3 separate regions of the Homo sapiens genome follow, and all the other regions are linked to region 1. Evidence: promoter capture Hi-C in 16 types of primary human blood cells and fetal thymus (Javierre and others, 2016). All regions are on one chromosome and are shown on one strand. Each heading gives the region's core, a stretch centred on a gene start or on the middle of the fragment in contact. The rest is flanking DNA. Distances are from core to core; before and after follow the strand shown.

Region 1 (3,997 bases), core at 543-3,042:
ATATATATATATGGCATATATATATGGCATATATATATATGGCATATATATATGGCATATATATATATGGCATATATATATGGCATATATATATATGGCATATATATATGGCATATATATATATGGCATATATATATGGCATATATATATGGCATATATATATGGCATATATATATGGCATATATATATGGCTATAGAGATGGCATATATATATGGCATATAGAGATGGCATATAGAGATGGCATATAGAGATGGCATATAGAGATGGCATATAGAGATGGCATATAGAGATGGCATATAGAGATGGCATATAGAGATGGAATATAGAGATGGAATATATATGGCATATAGAGATGGAATATATATGGCATATAGAGATGGAATATATATGGCATATAGAGATGGCATATAGAGATGGAATATAGAGATGGAATATAGAGATGGAATAGATATGGAATATAGAGATGGAATAGATATGGAATATAGAGATGGAATAGAGATGGAATATAGAGATGGAATATAGAGATGGGATATAGAGATGGGATATAGAGATGGGATATAGAGATGGGATATAGAGATGGGATATAGAGATGGGATATAGTGATGGAATATAGAGATGGGATATAGAGATGGAATAGATATGGAATATAGAGATGGAATAGATATGGAATATAGAGATGGAATAGATATGGAATATAGAGATGGAATATAGAGATGGGATATAGAGATGGGATATAGAGATGGAATATAGAGATGGGATATAGAGATGGAATATAGAGATGGGATATAGAGATGGAATATAGTGATGGGATATAGAGATGGAATATATAGATGGAATATAGAGATGGAATATATAGATGGAATACATATATATTCCATTGCATTGTTCTTTACAAACATTCATTTAATTATGTAATTGCTAATTAATTGCTTGGTTGTTATAACAACGAAGTATTTGATTCCTTATTTTATCTCATCATTTAAATTTTATTTCGCATATTTTCACAATGCACTGGATCTATTACTGAGGAATTTAATTAAATAATCATTCGAACCATGGGCTCGAATTGTTTACTGATAAAGCCCGACGACCAAAACAGCCTAGCGACTGCTGTTTGGAGCCCCTCGGCCCAGGGCCCGTGGCTGTTCTCTCCAAGGGACCATCTCGCCCCTCAGCCAAGTCGCCCGGAAAACGAGCGCTCGACCGCCTCTGCCCCGCTCTCGCTCTGCACACAGCAACGGTCTGGTCGCTCAGCCACTTCCTCCTTCCAGCCTCATCTGGTTCCCAGGCCGCTGGGGACTCCCAACGCCACTGTCCAAGACTCTAGGGTCAGCAAGCGCCCCGGGCGGAGAAGGGCGAGGACGAAGAGCGCCGGGCCGCGACCAGGAGCCCACCCGCGCCCTCCGACTGCAGACATGGGGAAGAGACGCGGGAACTCCAAAGTCGCTGGGTCTGCGCAGGTGTGTGCCGCGATCCTGTGAAGGTCAAGGCCTCCTGTGAGGGGGAGTCGTCCTGGAATGCGATGGTGAAGTGCTCCAGACCGGCCATAGGCCGGAAAGAGTGAGGAAGAAGAGAATGCAGGAGGCCTGCGATTTCTAAGGCGCGCGCGCACAGGGGTGCTGCAATTAGGATGGGGCAATGGGAGCTTGGAGAAGGGGTGCTAGCTAGGAGGAAAGGCGCGTGCGTGGAGGAACGGCGCGTGCGCGGAGGGGCGGTGTGTGTGTCAGAAGAGGCGGCGCGTGCGTAGAGGGGCGGTGAGAGCTAAGAGGGGCAGCGCGTGTGCAGAGGGGCGGTGTGACTTAGGACGGGGCGATGGCGGCTGAGAGGAGCTGCGCGTGCGCGAACATGTAACTGGTGGGATCTGCGGCGGCTCCCAGATGATGGTCGTCCTCCTGGGCGCGACGACCCTAGTGCTCGTCGCCGTGGCGCCATGGGTGTTGTCCGCAGCCGCAGGTGAGAGGCGGGGAGGAGAGTCTTGGCGCAGGGCGGGAGGTAGGGCACGCAGCTGGGCTACGGGGGCGGCGATGCTGTTGGGGGCGACAGACGCCCAGTCTGGGAAACCTTCGGTCCACTTTGCCGCGCCAAAGATTAAACCCGACCTGGGCTCGCAAATCAACCAGGAGAAAGTGGTGTTCTGGGTCCTCTCTTGCCGCTTGCCTGTGGCCGTGTACGGGTCCTCGGGAGCGCCCGGGTCCCACCCCCGTGAAATGGCGGTGCCAGAGCTTTGTGTCGAGTTTGATTCTTTCCGGGAAAGTACCGCGGCTCCGCTGGTCTGTTTGATAATAAACAAAACATTTCCCGAAATGCATTTCCTCAATCTGGTGAATAGGCGCCCAGTCCCACGGGGGAGTGAGCTAAGTGTGGCCAGGATTTCTCTGCCCTCAGGATTCATACAGGCCAATAAAAAATGACAGTCGGAGTGACTGAAGCATAATTGTCAGTTCTCGAGGTTTACTAAGCCTGCTTCAGGGCGCATCCGGGAAAAACGTGAGCCACAAACACGTCTGTGACTGGTTTTCCAGAGGTTTTCAGGAGGTGGGGCAGGAAGGCAGTAAGGCAAATAGTTCTGTGAGAATTTAGTTAGTGCCCAAGAAATCTGTATTTTAAGATACCATGAGTGTCTTGAAGAGAAAAAGAGAGTAAAGGGAGTCAGTTATGCAGATGCCTCTGGGTAGATGGAGTCTTGACTTTGTTTTGCACCTGAGAAGATAAGCTTGTAATTGACATGGTCAGTGTGGAAGGCCTGAACTAGTTTTTCAGATTAACTTTGGAATGCCATTTGTTGAGAGGAGAGGTCCATTCACATTGTTGGGGGGCTTAGAATTTTATTTTTGGTTTACTTAACTACCTACTTTTTTCCCAAAGAAATAATCATGTTCAAAACTCAATGAAATGTTATCTCAATGAGATTGTAATGTTGCTCAGTCTTTCAGAAGTCATAAAAATAGTCATACTTTTTAAACTAGTAAATGCAATTCTAGGACCCAAGACTAAGAAAACTGTCCAAAATATGGGAAGACATTTTTATTTATACTTTTTTTTTTTTTTTTTTGAGACAGCCTGTTGCCCAGGCTGGTGTGCAGAGGCGTGATCTCAGCTCACTGCAACCTCTGCCTCCCAGGTTCAGGCGATTCTCCTGCCTCAGCCTCTTGAGTAGCTGGAATTACAGGTGCACGCCACCACATCCGGCTATTTTTTGTATTTCTAGTAGAGATGGGGTTTTGCCATGTTGGCCAGGCTGGTCTCGAACTCCTGACCTCAAACAATCCACTTCAGCCTCCCAAAGTGCTGGGATTACAGGTGTGAGCCACCACGCCCGATCTATTTATGTTTTAGACTTTAGTTTTAGGAACTAGACTTAGGTTGTAGACCTGAAGTTACAGTTGGCATCCCCTTGTTTATGGGAGACCAGCAAAGAATTGACTTATGAATGATCTGTCAGGGTAGCCCTTCGCAGATGGCTGAGTCTTTTTATCCTTCCTTGGGGATTTGGCTGAAGCATAATGCTAGTAACAGCCATTCGTTTGGAAGAGGGTGTTGCAGTCACTTGGCCTCTGGGCTTAACTAACTTCCCTTTTGCGTAAGAAAGTTGGGAGAGGTCCTGAGATTTTTTTTTTTCTTTTACAAAAATAATAAAAGAAAAATACAAAGGCAGGGCGTCACCAGGCTAATTTGCTGAAATTCTTCATACTTACTTGGGATGCATGGGGGAATGGCAACTATTACAAGGTTGATAGAGAGTGAGAGGTAATTTTGTAGTGAGGAGGGGTACCCAAAGAGAATCAGGGCTAGCATCCCAGTGCAGGAGTCCAGGTGGTCTGTGAGCCTGCAAGTGAGTTCAAAATACTTTACCTGTTGGCTTAGGAAACCATATACCTGTGTGGTACATGATATCCTATTTCTCAAACTTTTCCACAAATATGTAGTATACTTTTCCTAGGATGTGGGTACTAGGGTCCTGGTGCATCCCATAGTAATTTCTTTGAAGTCTTTTGT
Region 2 (3,997 bases), core at 957-3,456, 490 kb before region 1:
TCTTTTTTATTTTTTGAGACAGAGTTTCACTCTTGTTGCCTGGGGTGGAGTGCAATGGAGTGATCTCAGCTCACCACAAACTCTGCCTCCCAGGTTCAAGTGATTCTCCTGCCTCAGCCTCCTGAGTAGCTAGGATTACAGGCGTGCGCCATCATGCTCGGCTAATTTTGTGTTTTTAGTAGAGATGGAGTTTTTCCATGTTGGTCAGGATGGTCTCAAACTCCCGACCTCAGGTGATCCACCTCCCTTGGCCTCCCAAAGTGCTGGGATTACAGGCATGAGCTGCTGCGCCTGGCCGAAAGTTTTTAATATTAATGTGTTTTAATTTACTTATTTTTTCTCTATGATTATCACATTTTTTGTGTTGGTTAAATAGACCTTTGGCTACTTCAGTTTCATGAAAATATTTTCCCATGCTCTATCACAAAAGTTTTACTGTTTTATTAAGTTAAACCATATGAAATTACTAATAGTCAACATAAAAAATAGGAGTTTCATATGGTTTAACCCAATACATTTAATCTATGATCTGTCTGGAATTGATTTTCATCTTTGGTGTGAGTCAGGGGTCAAGATTTTAAACAAATTTAATTGTCTGATTGTCAATTTCTTATGAATTGGATGACTGTATATATGTGGGTCTGTTTCTCAACTCACCATTCTGTTCTATTGTTTTTTTTCATTCTTGTACCGATACCTTACTGTCTTGGCCACTAGAGTTTTATGATAGGTCTTTTATAAATTTTAATAGCTCCGAAGTGTTCTTCAAGATTGCCTTAGCTACTCTTAGCCCACTATGTTTCCATTTAATTTTAGAATCTCTTGTTTTAGAATTATTGCTTTATATATATTTAAGTTGACATGTAATAATTGTACACATTTATGGGGCACATAGTGATGTTTTGGTACATATAAAGTATAGTGATCAGAATAACAAGAATTAGCATATCCATCATTTCAAACATTTATCATTCGTTTGTATGGGGGACATTTGATATCCTCCTTCTAGCTGTTTGAAACCACATATTATTTTTGACTACAGTCATCCTACAATGGTATAGAACACTGGAACTTATTCCTCCTTGACGCTATTTTATATGATGCCCTCTACTCTAGAATTGTTGTTCTAAACAACAGAATGTTAGTTACTCTCTTTTCTAGATAATCAGAATGTTAGTTACCCTCTTTATTGTTATTTTGTCTAAAATTGATGTGGCGATCCTAGATTTTTTTTTTGGTTCCTATTTGTCTGGTATATCTTTATTCATCACTTTATTCCCTTGTCCTCCATATGTTTTGGATTATCTTTTATAAATAGAATGTAACTGATTTTTTTTCTTTTTGAGACAGAGTCTCGCACTTTCCCCCAGGCTGGAGTGCAGTGGGACGATCTTGGCTCACTGCAACCTCCGCCTCCTGGGTTCAAGCGATTCTCCTGCCTCAGCCTCCTGAGTAGCCGGGATTACAGGAGCCCACCACCACCCCCAGCATTTTTTTTAGTATTTTTAGTAGAGACTGGGTTTCACCATGTTGGCCAGGCTGGTTTCGATCTCCTGACCGCATGATCTGCCTGCCTCAGCCTCCCAAAGTGCTGGGACCACAGGCGTGAGCCACCGCGCCCGGCCTTTTTTTTTTTTTTGATGGAGTTTCGCAACCTCTGCCTCCCAGGTTCAAGCTCTTCTCCTGCCTCAGGCTCCCAAGTAGCTGGGATTACAGGCATGTGGCACCACGCCTGGCTAATTTTGTATTTTTAGTAGAGACAGGGTTTCTCCATGTTGGTCAGGATGGTCTCGAACTCCTGACTTCAGGTGATCTACCTGCCTTGGCCTCCCAAAGTGCTGGGATTACAGGCATGAGCCACTGCGCCCAGCCAAATATAACTGATTTTTAAATCTAATCTGTTTTTACTGTGGGAATTTGAGCCATTAATATTATTATGGTATATTTAGGTTTGTATTTATTATCTTACTCCATCATGAATTTTTTTTATCCCAATCACCTTCTTCATTTTAATTCTAAGCTTTCTGAGGTTTGTTTTGTGGAGATGGGGTCTTGCTGTGTCACTCAGACTGGAATGCAGTGGTGCAATCATAGCTCAGCTGCGGCCTCTAACTCCTCGGCTCAGGTGATCCTCCCACCTCGGCCTCCTGACTAGCTGGGACTACAAGTTGCATGCCACCACACTCAGTTAATTTTTAAATATTTTGTACTGATGAGGGTCTTGCTACGTTCATCAGGCTGGTCTCAAACTCCTGGTGTCAAGGGATTCTCCCACCTCGGCCTCCCAAAGTGGTGGGATTACAGGCGTGAGCCACCTTGCATGGCCAACAGGATCTCTTGATAGTATGTTTCCAAAAAAAAAAAAGATCATCAAATCAGAATACCACACAAGGAAGCTTTGCTAACATGAGCTTCTGTTCTTCGCCTATGGAATCTGACTGAGTCCATGGTGCTGGATTTGGTGAAGCGTTGGACAAAGGAGTCATCCTAGGTACATAAACAAGAGGAAAGTACAAGTGATAATGAGGGAAACAGCAAGTTCATCATGAACTACAGATAACCTCTACTTTCATTTCTTTTCCTGTCTAGCTTAGGTGGGTTCTGGTAATTCCCCTGGGAATGAAGTGCCCAATTCTTATTTCTTTTTTTTCCTTTTTCTTTTCTTGTCTTTTTTTTTTGAGACAGAGTCTTTCTCTGTCGCCGAGGCTGGAGTGCAGTGGCGCGATCTCGGCTCACTGCAAGCTCCGCCTCCCGGGTTCACACCATTCTCCTGCCTCAGCTTTCCCAGTAGCTGGGACTACAGGCGCCCGCCAGCACGCCCGGCTAATTTTTTTGTATTTTTAGTAGAGACGGGGTTTCACTGTGTTAGGCAGGATGGTCTCGATCTCCTGACTTCGTGATCCGCCCGCCTCGGCCTCCCAAAGTGCTGGGATTACAGGCGTGAGCCACTGCGCCCGGCCGGCAGAGCAATTTTTACCTGTTCTCTGAAGATTTTCCAGCTCACTCCAGGCGACATGTTTTCTCCATTTCCTGACTGCCAGGGTGCTAGGGGGCATCATCACCAGGTTTTCAAGTATGTTCTGTGTTCTACGATGGTTTCCTGTTGTTAACCCTTTCATCTTACTATTTCTTTGAGAGTAGAAGCCATGCTTTAGTAAGTGCTTAATAACACCCAATAAATATTTGTCGACTAGTCCATTAGTTGAAGTCTAGCCCCCTAAGCCTCCGTTTTTCCCCAGGAAACTGTCAGTCCCCAACTCTGTTGCTTGCCTTCACAAGCTAATATCCACACTACAGAAAAGGACCAAAGAGGCAGGATTGGGCCCCAGATATGGATAAATCATTGTGGCCAGATATATCTCAGGACAAAAGTGGGAACTTGGTTTCTTGGTTTTGGAGAGCTCATTGGCTATAGAGTACTGCAAACATTTTTGTACTTAAGTGTCATTTTAAAGCTCAAGTTGGTTTCTCTACATGATATGGTCTTTTTCTCCCTACCTTGGGAAATTAGTGTTATTTTAAAAATGGTCTTAAAACATATTGATGCCCACTTGTTTTTCATAAGGAAATATGAAAAATGTTCAGACTTCACCAGTGGTTAAACAACGCAAATGGTGGCAACTTATATAATTAGCCAACCTGTTTTAAAACGAAATTTTGCTATGCTGGTGAGGTCTTGGCAAAGTGCTACATCCATATGTAGCCAGTTACAATGTAAGTTGGTTCAACCCTTTGAAAAGCAGGTAGCAATTCTGATCTAAGAACCATAAAAATGTTTATTTCTTTATTTTTGATCAAATAGTCCTAGGTTCTGGAATCTATCCTAGACAAAGCATCTAAAGGGAGTTGAATGCTCTGTGTTTGAAAATGTTCACTTTAATCTTTATTTTTAGCATGGAAAACTGGGAAACAAGCTACTAATAACTACCACTTGTCTGGCTCTGCAGTTCACAAGCAGCTGTCACATGTATCATTTCCTTTGATTTTACCGTGTCCC
Region 3 (3,997 bases), core at 380-2,879, 390 kb before region 1:
CACCCAAGGTTAGAGGCCTTGGAAGAAACCAGCCCTGCTGACACCTTCATCTCAGGTTTCTAGCCTCCAGAATTGTGAGAAAATAAAATCTGCTGTTGAAGCCACCCAGTCCGTGGTATTTTGTTATGACAGCCTTAACAAAATCATCCAACCTCCATTTTACAGATGGGTAAACCAAGGCTTAGCCAAGTGAGTTAACTGACCCAATGGTATATAGCTCTTTTTTTTTTTTTTTTTTTTTTTTTTTTTTTGAGATGGAGTTTTGCTCTTGTTGCCCAGGCTGGAGTGTAATTGTGCAATCTCAGCTCACCGCAACCTCTGCCTCCCGGGTTCAAGCGATTCCCCTGCCTCAGCCTCCCGAGTAGCTGGGATAACAGGCATGCGCCACCTTGCCTGGCTAATTTTTTATTTTTTATTTTTACTAGAGACAGGGTTTCTCCATGTTGCTCAGGCTGGTCTAGAACTCCCAACCTCAGGTGATCCGCCCGCCTCGGCCTCCCAAAGAGCTGGGATTATAGGAATGAGCCACCGCGCCCGGCCGGTATGTAGCTCTTGAGTATCACGGGCCCAGGTCTGATTTGTCTGATTCCAAAACTCTTATGTTTAACCCCCTCATTAACTGCCTGAAGAAGGGAGCCGGGGGACAGAATTCTAACACTCCCTGGGCAAGAGTGAACACCTAGGCTTTATGATGCTTTTAGTAAGGGGGCTGTTAGACCAATGTCTCCCACCGTACTGTTGTAACGTGGGCAGGCCTGTCTGGGGGCTTCCACAGCACGATGTTTGACTGGGGACTTGAAATGGATTTGTCACATAAATTGACTGACAAGTGGTTCTCAAACCTGTTTGCAAATTAAAATCTTGGGAGCAGCTAGAAAACAAGAGCCATCTTTTTGGGCCTAGCTAACAGCTGCTGGGAATGGACTCCTGAAATCTGCATTTTTGGTAGATTCTCTGGGTGAGTCTAATGCATAGTCAAGTTTGAGAACCAATTTAGGAGAGAAAGCATTCAAAGGATATAGTTTCCCAGTGAGGATAATTTTCATATGGGAAGGACCATTTATTTAAAAGAAATTCACAGGCAGCTCCTCAGTATTTCTGTCCCCCAGGTAACTGGCATGACCTATAGTATGCAGGGGGACATCAAGAACCCAAGGCAACCTCTGCTGATCTTTAACAGAAGCTTCCTGCAGCTTCGGGTGCCCCCCATTCCATAGATGGATCCACCACAGCCCCAGTAACTGATCCATGTCTCCAACCAGCCAGGCAGCAGACAGGTCTTCCTTAAAGGGTCTCATGCTGCAGTTTAATGCTGTCCTCAGTTGAAGAACTTCAGTGGGGATGTAGGACATGTTTGCTACAACCCTCACGGTATGTTTTCAGGTGCATTAGCATAATTATTAGGTCATAGGCCCCAGCCCTCCAGGTGAGAGCGGCTTGGGGCCCAGCTTCTTCAGCCCAGTTGGCTGATTACATGCTTAGAATTCAGAAAACTGGCTTGTTTCTTAGGGCACTGACAAAATAAACCCCACAGTGTCAGGGTGAAGGAATTCTGTTCTGCTGAAGTCTTTTAGATTAGAAAGGGCAACATCAGGTTCCGATTATAGCTACAAGGGATATTTCCTCATTGGGAACTCTGTCCTATCTGCCTTATAGGTTTAGACCTCCCCATATTAGTTATCCATTGCTGTGTAATTAAACACCCTAAAACTTATGGGCTTAAAACAACAACAAACCGGCTGGGTGCAGTGGCTCACACCTGTAATCCCAGCACTTTGGGAGGCCGAGGCGGGTGGATCACAAGGTCGGGAGATCGAGACTATCCTGGCCAACATGGTGAAACCCCGTTTCTACTAAAAATACAAAAATTAGTCAAACGTGATGGCACATCCTTGTAATCCCAGCTACTCAGGAGGCTGAGGCAGGAGAGTCGTTTAAACCCAGAAAGCGGAGGTTGCAGTGAGCAGAGATTGGCCACTGCACTCCAGCCTGGTGACAGAGTGAGACTCTGTCTCAAAACAACAACAACAACAAACCTTATTTTATCTCCCAGTTCCATGGGTCACGGATTCAGGAGAAGCTTAGCTGGGTGGTTCTGACTCAGGGTCCCTCTTGAGGTTCATGTCGTGTGTCACCTGGGGATGTAGTCTTCTGAAAGCTAGATTGGGGCTGCAGGGTCTGCTTCCAAGGAGGCACACTCACACACCTGGCAAGTTGGTGCTAATTGTTGGTGGGAAACCTCAATTCCTCCCTCATGGGCTGTTCACAGCCTGCTTGAATGGCCTCACAACATGGCAGCTGGCTTCCCTCTTAGATGGTGATCCAAGAGGGAGCAAGGCAGAAGTCAGAAGTACTTTCTTTCTTTTTTTTTTTTTTTTGAGATGGAGTCTCGCTGTGTCGCCCAGGCTGGAATGCAGTGCCGCAATCTTGGCTCACTGCAACCTCTGCTAATCTGTTTTTATATTTTCAGTTAATCTAATGCTAATTTATTATGATACCACTGGCCCAATTAACAGAACACATTATTCCAATCTGTGGTGAAACCTCCAAGATATGTGTCAAACGTATATATATATATATGTTTAATGCTACCTTTATGGTTGTGAACAAAATCACTATTTATATTCAAATGTTATTTGCAGAGCCTTTACTATGTTCCAGAATGCTCTTTCGTATATTTTCCTATTAAATTTTCAAAATCACCCTATAGGCTGAGTATTTCAATGTTTGATTCATTTCCCTCCATATTCACCTCTAGAGAGGCTAGAGGACTCAATCAAAGTCACATAAGGGGAAGAACCAGTTAGTGACAGAGTCCATTTCCACCATTTGAAGCCGCATTTGTGACCCTTCACCAGCTGCTTCCTTGAGCTTGGTGAACACATGGCCTCGCTGTCTTCTCTGCGTCACTGGGACTATCTTCTGTGATCACTGAAGATGATGGTTGTGAATAATGGTGGCATCAGGAAAGTGCGGTGGCGGCCACTTACTGGGAGTTACTGGGAGCTTACTGTGTGCCAGGCATGGTGCTAAACCCCTGCTTGTGTTGTCCACGTGGCAGGAATTATCATCATTTCACAGATTAACAGACGTAGGTGCAAAAGGCTAAGCCATTTGCCCAGGTCACAAACAATTGTTGGGGCTGGAAATGAGGCCTCCTGTGTGACTCACATCCATGCATTTACCTGCCAGCTCCTCTCCCCAGGGCTCTGCTTCTGTAACTCTCAGTTGGCAGGTGGAGACCCTCCCTAAATGATTGATAGCCAGGTTTCCTTTGAAAAGCCTCCTGATATGGTTTGGCTGTGTCCCCACCCAAATCTCATCTTAAATTGTAGTTCTCATAATCCCCATCTGTCATGGGATGGACCAGGTGGGAGGTAATTGAATCATGGGGGCTGTAACCCTCATGCTGTTCTCGCGGTAGTGAGTTCTCCCGAGATCTGATGGTTTTATAAGGGGCGTTTCCCCCCTTGCTCGGCACTTCTCCTTGCTGCTGCCGTGTGAAGAAGGATGTGTTTGCTTCCCCTTCCGCCATGATTGTAAATTTCCTGAGGCCTCAGCCCCGTGGAACTGTGAGTCAATTAAACATCTTTCCTTTATAAATTACCCAGTCTCAGGTATTTCTTCATAGCAGCATGAGAACGGACTAATAGACTTTGCTTTCCACACTTGCTGCAGTTCCTCAAAACATCACGTAATTGTTTTTATCTGTGTCGACTTTGCAATGTTTCTCCTAAGCAGTTATATTGCGTTATCAGGTGATTGGGTGAAAACCCAGTTTGGGGGTCAAAATAATTTTATTTCTCTGCTTGATAAATGCTATGTTGTAGTATTAAGTAATAATGGTAGTGATTTGTAGGAATCAGGAGCATCAGCAGCAAAAGCGAAAAAAAATCATAGGAAAGTCTACTTCATTCATTAAAAATGCTTACAATGGAGAGAAGTTAATTTCACCATAACAATAGTGTATTCATTGTCTGGGGCTGCCATAACAACG

The links. Contacts are between HindIII fragments. The CHiCAGO score rates a contact against its expected background, and 5 or more counts as called.
Region 2: a fragment that was not itself captured here is called in contact with the fragment with the promoter of IFNAR1 in region 1 in 1 of 17 cell types (total CD4 T cells); the score reaches 6.0 in total CD4 T cells.
Region 3: a fragment that was not itself captured here is called in contact with the fragment with the promoter of IFNAR1 in region 1 in 1 of 17 cell types (non-activated CD4 T cells); the score reaches 5.2 in non-activated CD4 T cells.

The regions. Positions count from the first base shown.
Region 1 is chr21:33,323,178-33,327,174 of GRCh38, forward strand. IFNAR1 (interferon alpha and beta receptor subunit 1) reads left to right here and starts at 1,793. Exons shown (of 11, transcript NM_000629.3): 1 at 1,793-1,954. The coding sequence starts at 1,879. RefSeq lists promoters at 497-1,780, 1,134-1,804, enhancers at 817-1,719, 1,007-1,216, 1,437-1,486, 1,720-2,621 and cis regulatory regions at 1,225, 1,716-1,725, 1,782. The HindIII fragment of the contact is 6,325 bases long and covers 1-2,712 here.
Region 2 is chr21:32,830,333-32,834,329 of GRCh38, forward strand. No RefSeq gene overlaps it. Among named protein-coding and RNA genes, the nearest start is that of EPCIP, 19 kb to the left of the region's middle. The HindIII fragment of the contact is 376 bases long and covers 2,019-2,394 here.
Region 3 is chr21:32,933,763-32,937,759 of GRCh38, forward strand. No RefSeq gene overlaps it. Among named protein-coding and RNA genes, the nearest start is that of LINC01690, 23 kb to the right of the region's middle. The HindIII fragment of the contact is 897 bases long and covers 1,182-2,078 here.